Linked DNA regions of Homo sapiens: region 1 is linked to region 2. Evidence: promoter capture Hi-C in 16 types of primary human blood cells and fetal thymus (Javierre and others, 2016). All regions are on one chromosome and are shown on one strand. Each heading gives the region's core, a stretch centred on a gene start or on the middle of the fragment in contact. The rest is flanking DNA. Distances are from core to core; before and after follow the strand shown.

Region 1 (4,231 bases), core at 1,610-4,109, 100 kb after region 2:
AATACAGAAGATTAGCCAGGTGCAGTGGCGTGTGCCTGTAATCCCAGCTACTTGGGAGGCTGAGGCAAGAGAATCACTTGAACCTGGGAGGCGGAGATTGCGGTGAGCCGAGATCAGGCCACTGCACTCCAGCCTGGGCGACAGAGCAAGGCAGCCTTAGAATCTTTTGGGGACCTATGCTGAAATCCATTAAGTTTGTCATAAATTTTTTTCATCTTTGTTGTATCTGCTCCCTCAAATCATTATAGCCTATATTCAGTGCTTCTGTTGGTGATGGTTGTGGTCAACCAAAAACCTAAATAATCCTTCTCCAGCTGTATCATTTACTGTAGGGAAAAAAATTAATGTTTACATATAGATATATTTGCATTTTGAAAATGTACAAATCTAAAAATAATTGTCAACTGTTCCACGTGGCTTACATCAGGAAATGTACCTCAAGTTATTTAACTGTGTGATATTTAGCACTTCTTACAAGATTCAAAATAACTTCAGTCAACAAATCTGCTATATTTTAATCATTTGGTTTTGCTTTTCATCTGCTACATAATGTGTAAATGCTATTTGGTGTTTATATATAGTATATAATATTTATATATAGTATATAATATTTGGTATATATTTGGTGTTTATATATAGTATATAATATTTGTACAATAATATACAAGTATATGTTTATATAAACAAATATATATTGTATATATACAAATTATTGCATATTTGAAACATACAATATATATTTGTATACTGCTGTAAATTCTATTAAGCTTCTATGCTTTTCGTAAATGAAGAAAATTCCTGTTATTATACTGCTTATACATTTTTGTAGATGATCCTCTGAATGCTAGATATTGTCTTGCCAAAACAGAATTGAGTTTTTTTGTTCAATGTAATATTTTCCTCATCATATAGAATCTGTTTTGCAGCATTAATAATTATATATTTCTAATCAGATTTGAAATTTGAATACTTAGCATTCCTATTGATGTTTATTTCAGATTCTTCATGTTTACAAAAAAATGTGCCAAGTGCTGTACAATCTTTGCATTCTTTCCCATTTTCCAGCTGATTTTTTGTTCTCAAAGAGCTGGCAAAATACAGAGTCCTTGGAAGTATAATAAAATAATCAGAATCTAGTCATTATTATTTCTCCTCACCATTTGGAAAAAATTTGTGTCCATTATATTTCCAAAAACTTCCAACCTGTATTATCTTTTGTAAAGATAAAAAATTTTTTACTTGAGGTGAATAATTTTCAGCAAGAGTACATCTTTGTTTCCTATTCAAACTACTTGGCCATGTGTTTGAATTCTTTGCATTTTTAAAGCTACTTTTTTTTAGATTCATCGATTATTTCTGACAATGGAACTAAAAGGTAAATTCACATCTCACATTTCTGTGACACATTCACTGAAACAAACAGCCCTAAACTCTCTATTTCTCCCTAAATTTATTCAATAATCCAAATAGTTTTACTTTACTTTCTATCTAGACAGCTTTTCATCTTCTAGTTTTAGTTTGATTTTTTTTTCTTATCAGTATCCTGGGAGAAATAATATTATATTAGCTTATTAAATGTTAAAGAAATATTATTAAGGCCGGGCATGATGACTCATGCCTGTAATCCCAGCACTTTGGGAGGCTGAGGCGGGTGGATCACGAGGCCAGGAGTTCAAGACCAGCCTGACCAACATGGTGAAACCCCATCTCTACTAAAAATACAAAAATTAGCCAGGCGTGGTGGCACATGCTTGTAATCCCAGCTACTCAGGAGGCTGAGGCAGGAGAATAGCTGGAACCCGGGAGGCGGAGGCTGCAGTGAGCTGAGACCATGCCACTGTACTCCAGCCTGGGCATCAGAGCGACACTCTGTCTCAAAAAAAAATATATATATATATATATGTGTATATATCTATATACATAATTAAAACATAATAGTAGTTTATCCTAGAACTTAAAACTTTAAAAAATATATATAATAAGCCATGAAACTTTACCAGCAGTTAGCTTTTCTCCTGAAGAAATTTTCTTTAACAACCCATAAACAATAGCTATGATACAATTCACAATTCATGATATAATAGTCTCTAATTTATGAATATAAAATAATTATTTTATGAATATATAATTGCCTATGATCATTAATTACCACAAAAGTGAGTTATGTAATAATAAAAATCCGTAGATCTAAATTAGGAATTCAGAGCTACCATTCAGGCAGACAATATGAACTGTAATGCAAAACTTCAAATTTAGCCAATACACAAATACTAATACAGGATTTAAAAAAAAATTAGATAAAAATCAAAACAAGAGTTGGAAAACAACTCCTTGTTTGGAAGCACTAGTTATTGTGGCACTCGTTACTTAAACCAATAAGGTCTTTGTCAAACACTCTCTGCTTCAGCTTATGAAGTAAATGTCAACCCTGTTAGAAAATCTATTTCCATCTGAAAGAAAATTGTCATAAAAAAGGATCTTTGTTAGAGAAGACATTTTATTGTTATTTGTCAGAAAACTATTTTAATAAGAATATGTCATCTACCTTTAGAGTTAGCAGTTAAATAAAAAAGTGAAAAAAATTCAACATAATGATGTCTGTGATGTGCATAGTTTCTGTCTTTCTTTTTTTTTTTTTTTGAGACGGAGTTTCACTCTTGTTGCCCAGGCTGGGGTCCAATGGTGCGATCTTGGCTCGCTGCAACCTTCACCTCCCGGGTTCAAGCGATTCTCCTGCCTCAGCCTCCTGAGTAGCTGGGATTACAGGCATGCCCCACCACGCCTGGCTAATTTTTTATATTTTTAGTAGAGACAGGGTTTCTCCATGTTGGTCAGGCTAGTCTTGAATTCCCAACCTCAGATTATCTGCCCACCTTGGCCTCCCAAAGTGCTGGGATTACAGGTTGGATAGTTTCTTTAGATGTCATGCCCTTGAGCAATAAACAACCTGAACAACTGTCCTTAGCTACTCCAAAATTTATGTGGTTATTACAGCTAATAAAGATGATATAGAAACAATCTGTGTAGTAAATGAAAGGTAGTTTAAGGGATTTTGAGACCTCTGTTTGGATGCTGGTTTTGTTGTTTGCTAACTGTGACCTGGAGCAATTCACTTATCACTCAGTTACCTCAGCTACAAATGGGGATAAGTATGCCTCATCCTTTAAACTGCTGACCGGAGGTCACACGAGATATCCCCAGTTCTGAGTCGTCAACGAAATCGTAAGATGTGCATAAGGTTTCCATTTTGCACTTGTTAAAAATGTGCTTGCGGCCAGGTGCGGTGGCTCATGCTTGTAATCCCAGCACTTTGAGAGGCCGAGGCCGGTGGATCACTTGAGGTCAGGAATTTGAGACCAGCCTGGCCAACATGGTAAAACCCCGTCTCTACTAAAAATACAAAAATTAGCTGGACATTGTGGTGGGTGCCTGTAATCCCAGCTACTCGAGAGGCTGAGGCAGGAGAATCACTTGAACCCGAGAGGCAGAAGTTGCAGTGAGCCGAGATCACGCCACTGCACTCCAGCCTGGGCGACAGAGTGAGACTCTTGTCTAAATAAACAAATAAGTAAGTAAAATGTGCTTGCTTAAAAAAAATTTTTATTATGTTTTTAAATTGAATGAAGGATATGTGCAGAGCCAGTAAAGGATGGTAATATGGGATCAGTTCCTGTTAAGTCACCTGTGGACAGTTCTGGCTTCACATGTTCACTGGTGCTCTTTTGTAGGAGCCCAAGAGGCTGACAGTTTAATTTTCTTAGGATGCCAAATGTTAAGACACCTGTTTGACGTTTGCAAATAAGCTGCTGTGCAAAATGAAAACCTGATGGTGATCTTTAAAGCAACCCCAACCAATAAATACCTCTGTAATAAACCTCAAGAGGACGCAGGGTTTCTATTTGGAGAAATGAAATTCTGCAAAAGCAACCAGAAAAACATTTAAAGTCCTAGAAATGGTGAGAGTATATGGCTCCACTCGGTTACGGCAGCACATCTGTGGCCAGCCTGAAAAAGAGCAAAGGGAGTGTGTCCAACTTCTCATTCATTCAATGAGCATTTATTGAGGGCTGCTGTGTTCCAGGCACTGGCCTAGAAGCCGGGGAGATAAGTGAAATCAGACATGATCTCAGTCCACTGGGCTCTTGAAGTTCATGAACTGTCTTTCGTGCCCTCTGTCTTCCCAGGTTCTGTTCCTCCCTCCTTCTGCATCCTAGGTGACAGCCTTCCTTTC
Region 2 (4,300 bases), core at 290-2,789:
TCTGGTCCCAGAAATCCAGGCGAAAGCCCAGAGAGGCATCCAGTGAAGATCAACTCCCCTTGAAGGGGTGGCTCTGCCCCTTCCATCTTCCAAGTAGTGACCCCACAGCCCCCAAAGCTTGGTCAGTGTTGAGCTGGTCCTCGATTCCCCCAGCAAGTTCACGGGGGTCAGTCTGGCTGTTTAGTACGGTTTAAGAGGCACTCTTGAATACTGGGTATATGCCAATCTCCGGAAGACTCTGGGCATTAAAAGATAAAGAGGAGTCCGTCTCTGCCCCAGGGTTTATACAAATGAGACTCAGAGAGCAGGTGGCTAGCTCTGGGAAGTGCCTGGGAAGGCCTTCCTGGCAGTGGAGGTGCTCTTGGCCATGCTGGTCTCCATGCTGCCCAAGCAGGGTCTTGCCAGGTTCTGGATGCCAGGGCCAGGATGAGGGAGGTGGGGGAGGACTGTGGGGTTCTGAGAAAGGGTCATCTGCATGAGTGAAGCCACTCAGGGGGAAAGCCCTCTCTCAGTCTGCCCACTTGGGGGGCTGCGTCACTCCAGGGTCTTCTGGTCCTCAGACCCGTGGGGCCAAGTGTAAGGGGGCAGTTGATGCTGGAATAATAGAAGCTTTGTTAGGTCTCAGCTGGGGACCCTCTGGGCTGGTTTTGAGGAATGGGGGCACTGCCTGAGAGTGGCTTGGAACCCCTTGGAGCTGCAGGATGAGGGGTTTGGAGGCTGAGAGCCTGGAGAGCTGGCTGCCCATCCACTGTCCTGGCCCAAGCCCTTCTGTGTTGAAGCATTCACCATTGAGTCGGGCGTCCCAGGTCCAGCTACCGCCCACCCGCCTGCCTGATGGAGCTGGTCCCTTGCTCACCCTCTCCCACTCCTCAGTTTCCTCCCCCTCCACCTCTTCCAACTTCTCAGGACTAATGGGGACACATGGGATTCTGTGTAGTCCATGCTAAGTTCCCCGAGCTGGTGGAGAAGTACATGAGTGAAGGAGGATGTCTGGGCGGTAGAAGGAGGGGGAGACAGCCATGCAGAGTAGGCTGGTGAGTCAAGCATTAAGAGCTTTTCCCTCCAAGACTTGAAAAGAAAGGGAGAGGAGCAGCCCACAGCTTCAAAGGCTGTCGCGGAGGAAGGTCTAACATTTTCCTTTCCCTCGGAGGCCTTTGCCTCGCTCTGTTTCGGGGTCTGGCGACCACCACACCCTCACCCTACTTGCTCCCTCAGTCAAGCCCAGCCTTGCAGCCCAGGTCCTTACATAGACGTGAAGACCCAAAGGGCTCCTCAGAGGGGAAGGGCTGGGAGGCTGCTCTCAGACTCCAGGGGCCAGAGTGTCCTTCCTACTTGTGCTCAGCTTGGCAGTTGGTTCCTGTCATCCCTCCTCTCGGTACCCCTGGTGACTGCCCTCTTGCAGGGATGACCCCAGCCCAGTGGGGTGGGCTGGGCTGGGTGGGGCTTACCAGTGGGTGAGCAAAGCCGGCTGGGCAGGGCTGCAGGTGTGTCTGGGGAGCGGGCAGCCGAAAGGTGTTCCTGAGGTGTGTGAAAGGGCTCTGCTCAAATAATCCAGGGAGGCGTTTATAAATAACTTTTCCTCAGGGCCACGGGGTGAGCCCCGGCTTCTGATTGGCTCAGAGGGGAAGTGGTTTTGAACACTACACCATAGCTAAGCCTGAGGAGATAGGAAAAGGAGATAAGGGGGAAAAGGTCCCAAATGAACAGCCCTTTTTTTGTTTTACCTGGGGAGCAGGGCTGTGTGATGGGAGCTTGGCACTTCCTAAATCCACCCCGAAGACAATAGGTCACATTCAGCGGGGCTCCTGCCCCACCGGCTCCCCCAAGGCGGCCCTGGAGGAGGGGGACGAGGCAGAGGAGGGGGACAAGGCAGGACAAGCTCCTCTGAGCTTGCTGTCCTGCTGCTTATGGGGCTGGGGGTCAGGCCAAAGAGCCTCTTGGACAATGGGAGCTATTGAGGCCACCTGAGGGGTGTGCTCTTGGGGATGCTTGCTTTGAAGATTGGAGATCTAGGGGGTGGGAAGACAGTAGTCCTCTGAACACCCCTGAGGAAGGGGAAGAACCATGTCTGGGAGGCCCTGGGAGCCTTTAGGCGGTTTTGGTTTGTGGTGGAGACCTGGTTCCCAGTTCTGTCCCCAATGTTAAGTTGCTTGTGAGCTCTGTGCCTTGGTCTATCCATCAGTGCAATGGGGGAAATTATTCCTGGCCCCTCAGGTAGTGTGCAAAGAGAACACAGGGGTTTAGAATCTGATAAAAGAGCTCAAGAAACTGGACTTAGAACAATTATATGAGAGGCGACCTGAAGGCTAGCAAATCTCCAGTCACAGCCCTCTGCCGCTTCTAGGAATTAATGTCTCCCTGGGTCATGGCACTGCTCCGGCTGCTGCCAGCAGAGCTGCCCATCCCAGGCCCATTGAGTGCTACGGAAGGACCTCAGAAAGCAATTGTGGACAGGGGCTGGGAGGGTGGGTAGGGGAGTTTCTTAATTTACTTCCTGGGAGGGAGAGTCACTACCCGACACCAGGTGCCCATTCTTTGAGACATCAAGTGCTGCACTGTCCTCGTCCTCAACTGTCCTCCCATCTCTCCAAAAGAAACCAGAGGCTCTGAAGTGGGCTGGAATCAGTGCAGGGGGCTTCAGTAAGGCACCTCTGGAAGTTGGGGCGAAAGTTCCCCATGGTGAAATGAGCTAGCTTCAGTACTTAATAGGGACTCAATAAATATTTGTTAAATGAATGAAAGAGTGAATTGTCTGCAAGCCCAACCCAAGGGATAGTTTGTAGATGCATTGCTTGTGGGGACTAGGGAAACACCCGAGGTCACTCAGAGTTGTCAGGGTGTAGCCAGACAACTGGCTGAAGAGAGCCAGAATTCAAGTGACCCAAGTGTGCCCTGACACCTGGCTGAGGGAAGGATGTGTGCATGGACACTGCCTCGGGGAGCCCTTCCCCAGACCCCTATGTGGACTTAGCTGACATGTTGCACATTCGTTCCTCTGGCTTCCTCTGCTTCACTCTCATAACACTGACCACAATTAATGGTAATTATGTATGGAATTGTCAGTCTTTCTGCAAACACCGTGAACTCCCTGAGGAGGGCAAGGGGGCAGTGCCTCTTTTGTATCCCTACCCACCTAGCCCAGTGCCCGGCACTTAGGAGGAGCTCAATATAGATTTGAGGAATGAATGAACAATTGTATGATAGAGTCTTTAAACAAAGCAAAGCCAGAGGGCGAGAATTTGTCCATGCATCTTCAGTATTGTCCAGTGTCATGGGTAGCCTGACCTGTTCTAAACTTTGCCCAGGAAATTCCTAGAAAGCAGATGAGTCATTATGTTCTTCCGATAGCCAGGTGACAGTGGCTATCAAGATCAAACAACTAAGTCCCCTTGCTGAGACACCATGTCCACCAGGGAATCTTCTGGTTGTATGTCCTTTAGGGCAGAGAATGCACTGCCCAGCTGGTTGGAGCGACTAGGGCTGCTTTTGCAGGCATGCTTCTCTTTTAAATGACCCATGGACATTCTGGGCTACCCATTGGTCCAGTGTGAGTTTTATTAATGTGAGTTAGTATCCCCTGAGTCTGACCTAGTTTCCACAGTAACACTTGGTTTTCCCACAGGTGATTTGGTTTAATTCTTATACCAAACATATAGGCATGTTACTGTCATTTTTTGATGAGAAAACTGAGTTGACTGAAGTGAAATCACTTATCCAAGATCACAAAGATCTGAATGGAAGAGGCAGGAATCTAACTTGGCTAAAATGGCTTCAAATCCTCTGCTTAGTCTACGATATCATCTTAACCTTTGAGCCTGCGAAGCTAAGGATGAGATCCTACAAAAGACCATACCTTTTAGATACCATTAGGCTCCCTTGCTGGTATAACTCCTAATGTAACCTGGATGAAGACGTCTGGGGCCTCCAGGATACATGCTGGAATTGGAAACTTGTTGTTTGTCCTCCTCAAAACTTTTCTACTGTCTCAGCAAAATTCTGGGCAGGTAGCCCTTGCATTATAGGGGCAGTAGGGATAGACGAACCCAGAGATTCCTCTGAAGTCACCAAGGAAGATGGACAGGGGCCTCAGAATCTGGGGCTGGTCATTGGTGGGAGGCCCAGGAAGGAGGAAACCAGATCAGAGGCTAGGGAAACAGAAGACAGAAGGGGGAGTGCCCCGATGGCTGAAAAGGCATCTTAGGGGTATCTTGGGTAGAATTAAAGTGTGGACAAATTTAGGGTTGGTGGAGGGAACACAAAGATATGGAGAGATAGGTGACAGAAATAGAAACACAGAGAA

Evidence for each region. Contacts are between HindIII fragments. The CHiCAGO score rates a contact against its expected background, and 5 or more counts as called.
Region 1: a contact is called between a fragment that was not itself captured here and the fragment with the promoter of SLC26A9 in region 2, in 5 of 17 cell types (neutrophils, M2 macrophages, non-activated CD4 T cells and 2 more). The highest score is 9.2, in neutrophils.

The regions. Positions count from the first base shown.
Region 1 is chr1:206,043,614-206,047,844 of GRCh38, forward strand. No RefSeq gene overlaps it. Among named protein-coding and RNA genes, the nearest start is that of RHEX, 7.4 kb to the right of the region's middle. RefSeq lists an enhancer at 3,970-4,139. The HindIII fragment of the contact is 4,180 bases long and covers 770-4,231 here.
Region 2 is chr1:205,941,917-205,946,216 of GRCh38, forward strand. SLC26A9 (solute carrier family 26 member 9) reads right to left here and starts at 1,540. Exons shown (of 21, transcript NM_052934.4): 1 at 1,449-1,540. All of the region lies in intron 2 of SLC26A9-AS1 (SLC26A9 and RAB7B antisense RNA 1), which reads left to right. The HindIII fragment of the contact is 4,358 bases long and covers 608-4,300 here.